Regions from separate parts of the Homo sapiens genome. Here region 2 is linked to region 1. The links are contacts of gene promoters, found by promoter capture Hi-C in human tissues and cell types (Jung and others, 2019). All regions are on one chromosome and are shown on one strand. The core of a region is centred on a gene start or on the middle of the fragment in contact, and the rest is flanking DNA. Distances in the headings are between cores, read along the strand shown. Region 1 holds the start of USP31 (ubiquitin specific peptidase 31). Region 2 has its middle 16 kb from the start of MIR3680-1.

Region 1 (3,356 bases), core at 401-2,900:
TGGTGTGTGTCTGTAGTCCCAGCTATTAAATACTCTGGAAGGTGAGGCGGGAGGATTGCTTGAGCCCAGGAGTTTGAGGCTATGTGAGCACTGCACTCCAGCCTGGGCAACAGAGCAAGACCCTGTCTCTAAAAATAAAATAAAAATAAAAAGTAGCCTGTCAGCACATCAATCACAGCAGCAGGTTTTTCTTTCTTCAAACCACTATCTGATATTATCTCGTTAACTTCTTCAAGTCTTTAATAACAAAAATAATAGCAGCAAATACACATGATATGGAAGTATTTTACTTATCAGGTTGAACCCTATAAAAGTGCCAATCTGTAAATAAAAAACGGTTAAATATGGGTAATTCCACAGTGTTCGATTTAATATATTAACTTGTTTGCAGCTCACAACCACCTTACAAAGTAGGTCCCCCAGATGAAGAAACTGTAAGAACAGAGAGGCTGCTTAACTTACCCGACGTCACATTGCTAGTAAGTGGCAGAACCAGGATTTGAACCCATGCTCAACACTCCCACCCCACAAAAATGCAAGTTCCATGAAGGCGGATAGTCTTGTTCATTGCAACGTCACTCCCATTGCCTATTATCACAGAGTATGGGCACGTATGTAGTAAGTTCTCAATAAATACATGTTTGAGTGAGTGAGTGAGTGAATAAATGAATGAATGAATGAATCTCCTTAAAATCACTGGTCGACTGCCCAGACCACTCGGAGCAACCAATGCAGAAGCCTGCCGGGCCAAGAGGAACCGAGGGAAGGAAGACCTGGGCGGGCAGGTGCCCCAGGGGCTCGGGGTGCAGTGGGGGCGCGGCGGCGCGCGGGCTCACCTTGAAGTCGCGGCTGTGCTGCGGGGTGTACTCCAGGGTCCAGAGGGCCCGCACCAGGTGCGCCAGCTGCTCAGTGACCTCGCCCTGGCCCTGCGCGCCGCGGCCCGCAGGCTGCTCCGGGTCAGGCGAGGGCTCGGGCCGCCCCGCCCGGTACTGGCCCAGCGCCAGGTACTCGGCGAAGAGCTCGGTGTTGCTGAGGCACTGCAGCGTGGCGTTCATGAAGCACGTGTTGCCGTGGTTGCGGAGCCCCGCCACGCCGGGCACCGGCTCGGCGGCGCAAGCGGGCGGCGCGGGAGAGGCGGGCGGCGGCGGGCACGGCGGCGGCGTGGGCGCGGCGGCCGGCCCGGGCGGGAAGCAGCTGCGGAGGCCGCCGCGGTCTGGGGCGGCGCCCTCAGAGCTAAGGTGCGAGAGCGTGGACAGCGTCTTGAGAACGCGGCTCATGAAGCTGCCCACCGAGCGTGCAGAGGAGGGCGAGGAGGGCGAGGAAGGCGCGGCCGGCCCGGACGCCCCGGGGCCCCCCGCGCCGCCGCCGCCAGCGCGGCCGCTCCGAAACAGCCGCTTGCTGAAGGAGCGCTTCTCCTTCCCGCTCGCCGCCGCCGGCGGCCCGGACCCAGGCGCCGTTACCTTGGACATGGCGGCGGCCGCAGACACTCATCACCGCGCCCGCCCGCCCGGCCCGCGGCCCCGCCACGGCCGCCGCCGCATCCCGCAGCGCCGCGCCTCACCGGGCCCGGGGGCTCGACGCCCCACACACCTCAAAGCGCAGCCGAGCCAGCGAGCGAGCGGCGGCCGGCGGGGCCAGCGGGCGCGCGCGCGGTCCGCCCAGCTGAGCCGCTCACGTGACGTGCCTCCCGGCGCCGCCCGCCCGGCGCTGAAGCCGCCTCGGCCGCCATGTTCACTGTGGGACGGTAGCTGCCTCTCCAGCCGGACGCGATGCCTGGAGGCTGCGGGCGCGGTCCTGCTGCGTGAAGCCCGAGGGAGGCCATGTCTAGTGTGGGCGCCGTCCCGGCTTGGAGGAAAAGGCTGGGCTCCCGTTGGATGGTGGATCCCCGGGGTGGGTCTCTGTCTTTGCTGGTCAGATGGCAGAGGCGGGAACGTGCAGGAATCAGGATGCTGTCAGTTACCAGACCGTGCAAGAGCTGGTGGACATGGCCCTGACAGGTCCTGGGCAAGTCAGCCCTGTCTGGCTCCCAAGGGACGTTGCAGATACCTACCCTCTGGGTGCCAGCGGAGCGCAGTCACAGACCCTGGCACGTCCCAGCGGGCTTTTCTTCCTGGCTGCACCTTGGAGTCCCAGCGAAACGCTGTTATCATAACTACTTTCCTTTTCATTCCAGCCTTTAAAACTCCTCCGGGCTCTCCCATCATTCATCATTCCATTCATTCATTCACTCACTCATTCATTCAGCAGTTACTGGGGATATTGCAAAGAATTAAACCTATTAAATTAGAATCAAATGTCATATCCCCAGCGGATTAAATTAGCACGGTTTCTACCTGCCCTCTTGCAGCTTACATTCCTACTGGGTGTTTACAATAGCTGTTGTGTTCCACACATTATGCCAAGCATGCAATATTTTCTTTAATCTTTAATTCACCGTCTTTGAGATTGGTACAGTTCTTATCTGATTCAAACCCAAGTTTTATTTACAACCCCTATACTTGACCTCTAAACCAAAGGTCACGAATCCACAAATATCACAGGTCACAAACCCACAAATGAGTGAAGAATCCTGGTGTTTGAATCATCATATTGACTTTCAAGTGACTTGGGTCTCAGTGTTGGGGGAAATATAAGGAATGATGGGGACTATAGCAGACTTCAAATTAACATCTTTCTAAAGAGGTGGCTGCCACTCAGCTCCAGCCAGTTGTTCCCATGTGAGAACAGGAGCTCAGCGTTACCAGATCATCTGATGTTTTAAGAGAAGGCAGAAATCCTATTTTTAAACGTTGGTTCCATTAAAAAAAAAATAGTGCAGGGAGCAAAAAATAGTACATCTTTGGGATGCCTTTAGTCCAAAATCAACTAGTATATGACCTCCTCTCTATAGGCTCCCCTCTGCTAAAAGGGCTAGTCTGAGTCCTGAGGCAGAAGAGAGAAATCAGAGAAGGGAGAGCCCTTCCTCCTTTTTAAAACATGAAGGCCACCTTACACCACGTTTCAAAGTAAATGGTTTTTACCTTTGACCTCCCTCCCCAATGTAAGTAGGGCTCTATGATGACATCTCCAGGGTGCTCTGCACTGTCCCTAATCGGCTCCACTCTCCTCTTAGTCAAAATTCTTATCTGGACACCAGGAAGAAAGCCATCTGATTATTCACACTAAAATGTGAATGCAATGGCCCTCAACTTCTGGGCAGTTTGATCTAGACTCGAGGGCCTTTGCTGGAGCCGTTCCCTCTCCCTTGAACCTTTCCTTAGCTAACTTAGAACCTTTCTACTTAGCTAACTTCCCCTCATCCTTAAAGTCCCACCTTAGATATCACCCCCTCCAGGAGATGTCCCTTCCACAGGCCC
Region 2 (3,591 bases), core at 498-2,997, 1.6 Mb before region 1:
GGCCCGCACCCGCCATGCTCTGCTTACCGGCCGGGCCTGGGACACCCGGGAGCCGCAGCCGAGCGAGGATTGTGCGCGCCGCTCGCCGCCCGCCGCCCGCAGCTGCGTCAGGAACCCCGCCCGCGCCGCCTTTTAGGCCCCGGCCCACTGGCCCCGCCCACCGTCCGCGGCTCCTCCCCGACCCGTGGCCCGGCCGCGGCCCTCAGCCCCGCCCCCTCGACCCAGCTCGGAGCACGTGCGTCGTCCGGCCTAGCCTGGCAGGCGATTCCCAGGCCCGCGTGGTCCTCGAAGGCCCCCGTACTCCTGCGCCATGGAGACCCCGGCCTCGCGACCTACCCCCCCGGCGCCCGCGTCATCCCAGCCCGTCCTCCCGGGTGCGCCTGGGCGGGGCCTGGCAGTCAGGGCGAGCCCCTTCACCCACTGGCCCGCAGCCTCTCGTCAAGCCTGGGAGCGGGCAGTGCACCAGGGCTGGCCTGAGGCCAAGGATGGGGTTTGGGGTACCCCCCGAAGGGAACCTAGGCTCCTGTCCCGGATGGGCCGAGGGGATGGAACCGCCCCCACAACCAGCTCCTGGGGCACGGGGGAGGGATGAGAAGATGACCTGAGGGGAAGCTCCTGCAGCCTCCTTCCAGCCTGGGGGCTGCATCAATGTGGCTGGTGAGCCGCGAACTGAGACGAGGGAAGAACCGAACCGAGGCCACCCAGTAATTCCCATTGTATCCCAAAAGAATCTTGCCAAAGATGGCGATCCGGTGCCCGTAGCTTTGAGAAGCAGTAATAACACAGGCTTTGGGAAGCCAGCACTCTGCCTGAGCTCAATTTAATCAACAGAACCGGGGGTTCACCGGGAGCCATAAGACCCCCACCCCCAAATCTAGCTGGGAAATTCAAAGGCAGGCTTCAGTGTGAAGGGGCTTTAAAGCTTGTTATTCCTGGGGAATGCGAGAGGCATCTTAGCTAAAAAGGGTTGAGAGGTAATTTCAGTTAGAGGCGAGAGCAGGATGCCAAGGCTCCTAGGCCTGGAAACGGGAAGGAATATAAATACTGCCCCGAGATTGACCAGACTGGTGAGCAGCCAAAGACCTGTTCAAAGGGTGTGTGTGGGTCAGGGAGGAAGCTCCTCGGTATCCCCCCAACCCGGGGTTCCTTGGCGTGTGTCCTAACGAGTACTTGGAAGCTCACAGCAGGCATGTGGGGAGGCCTTTGTTCTGGGTGAGCGTTCAGCCTCCCAGGGCAAACACGCAAACACCGGTTGCAGAGCTGGGTGTTCACAGCAAGACAGTCTGCTGGGCAGATGCCTCTGGAATCCACAGAATTCTGAACAATAGCCGTGGTGGAGGGGGGGTCAGAATCCCTGTCGTGCTGGGACCTCTAGCTGCAGCCAGGAATGTCCAGGCCCCACCCCGGGGAGGAGGCGGCTGAGGAATGCCACGGCTTGTCATTCTGGACCTTGCTCGCCCCCCGGTATGGCAGGCATTCCTCTGCAGTGATAAAACCAAGCGAAATCTCAGCAGCCCAGGCAGCCACCGGCAGGGGAGTGCGGAGGTCGCACAGATACTAACTTGTAATCTGCCGTCCACGCTGCGGGCTGTGGAAGGTGCAGAGAGCCCTCCATCCACCCTATTCTTCCCGCTGTGCCTGCAGAGGGAAGGAGACAGTACCACCATGGCTGGACAAACTCACCGAGTGCTCACTGAGTCCTCCCCTAGATAGCTTCTTGTGCAATAGGGTAGGTGCCAGTTAGGAGCAAGGTTAGAGATTATAGGGCCAGATTTTTTGCTTAGGTTCAACTACGCAAAATAAAAATAGACTTTGCATGCATTTCAGGCACTGGGCTGACGACCGGCCACCAGGGAGGCTCCGCCCCACTTCTTAGCTTTGGCCCCAACGTTAGTCTTGTTGCTGCTCTCAGGCGTGCTCTGCGTGTGAAAGATGACTTGGAGGCTGGGCGCGGTGGCTCACGCCTGTAATGCCAGCCCTTTGGGAGACCAAGGTGGGAAAATCTCTTGAGCCCAGGAGTTCAAGACCAGCCTGGGCAACATAGGGAGACCCCGTCTCTACAAAAAATACAAAAACTAGCCCAGCGTGGTGGTGGTGCACCTGTAGTCCCAGCTGCTGGGGAGGCTGAGGTAGAAGGATCACCTGAGCTGGGGAAGGTTGAGGCTGCAGTGAGCTGAGATCACGCCACTGCACTCCAGCCTAGGCGACAGAATGAGACCGGTCTTTTTTTTTTTTTTTTTTTTTTTTTTTTGAGACGGAGTCTCGCTCTGTTACCCAGGCTGGAGTGCAGTGGCGCGATCTCGGCTTACTGCAAGCTCCGCCTCCTGGGTTCACACCATTCTCCTGCCTCAGCCTCCCAAGTAGCTGGGACTACAGGCGCTCACCACCATGCCCGGCTAATTTTTTGTATTTTTAGCAGAGACGGGGTTTCACGGTGTTAGCCAGGATGGTCTTGATCTCCTGACCTTGTGATCCCCCCGCCTCGGCCTCCCAAAGTGCTGGGATTACAGGCGTGAGCCACTGCGCCCGGCGAGACTGGTCTTGAAAAAAAAAAAAAAGATGACATGGAAGCAACAGTAGGAGCCGGGGTCAGAGTTCAGGCCCGTCCATCCGTGGATGATGGATAAACCCAGCGTAGTCCGCCATCCCTTGGAGAGTCATTCAGCTGCACACAGGAAGACGCGCTGCAATGTGCAGGACCCCTGAAAACACTGGGCTGCGTGAAAGGGTCAGTGACCACGGGTTGTATGATTCCGAGTGCACGAATGTTCAGGACAGGAGGATCCAGAGAGACGGACGAGATTCGTGGCTGCTTAGGGCGGGGGGAAGGGGCGATGGAGAGTGAGGGCTGAGTGGATGGGGTCTCTCTTTGGGGTGATAAAATGTCTTGGAACTAGATGATGGGGATGGTTGCCCAACACTGGGAGTGACTTAAACACCACGGATTTGTACGTGTTTAAATGACTAACGGTTAATGTTATGTTATGTGTGAACTATACATCCAAAAGATAAAAGCAGTTCAGGCCTAGAATCGAACGGTCCTGGGTTCAGATCTCACCTCTACCACTTGCTGGTTAATGTGGCACCAGGCGAGTGACTCGGCTCAGCTTTCAAAGTCTCAGTTTCCTCTTCTGTGAAGCAGGGAGACACCTGCGCCCGCCTCCTGGGGACCAGCAGGTAGAAGACCCTGAGCCGCTGGCATTGCCATCACTGCAGAACTGTGCTCCCAGGGCTGGCAGGTGGAGGACCCTGAGCCTCTGGTGTCATCCTCACTGCAGAACTGTGCTCCCGGGGCTGGCGGGTGGAGGACCCTGAGCTGCTGGTGTTGCCGTCACTGCCGAACTGTGCTCCCAGGGCTGGCCGAATGCCTGGCTTCCACCCTCAGACTTTCTTTCCAATGTGTGCAGAGGGAACACGGAGGGACAGCAGTTGCAGCAGCCCACACTTGCTGTGTCGGGCATGGTCTCAGTGGCTGGAGCGTGAAGATGGAGGCGGGGATGGGAGTGGGCGGCTCTGAGTCAAGGGACACCTGGAGCCCCCAGAAGCTGGAAGAGGCAGGAGGGGTCCTGGAGCCCCCGAGGGAGTCTGGCC

What was found. Contacts are between HindIII fragments. The study calls those that stand out against the background at their distance.
Region 2: a contact is called between a fragment that was not itself captured here and the fragment with the promoter of USP31 in region 1, in 1 of the 25 tissues and cell types used here (dorsolateral prefrontal cortex).

Annotation. Positions count from the first base shown.
Region 1 is chr16:23,147,802-23,151,157 of GRCh38, forward strand. USP31 (ubiquitin specific peptidase 31) reads right to left here and starts at 1,651. Exons shown (of 16, transcript NM_020718.4): 1 at 837-1,651. The coding sequence starts at 1,469. RefSeq lists silencers at 792-1,021, 1,152-1,251, 1,352-1,401, 1,552-1,651 and an enhancer at 1,832-2,051. The HindIII fragment of the contact is 9,135 bases long and covers 1-3,356 here.
Region 2 is chr16:21,520,350-21,523,940 of GRCh38, forward strand. It overlaps the pseudogene SLC7A5P2. Among named protein-coding and RNA genes, the nearest start is that of MIR3680-1, 16 kb to the left of the region's middle. RefSeq lists enhancers at 1-456, 457-1,189, 1,190-1,924, 3,392-3,591 and a silencer at 1-476. The HindIII fragment of the contact is 7,216 bases long and covers 1-3,591 here.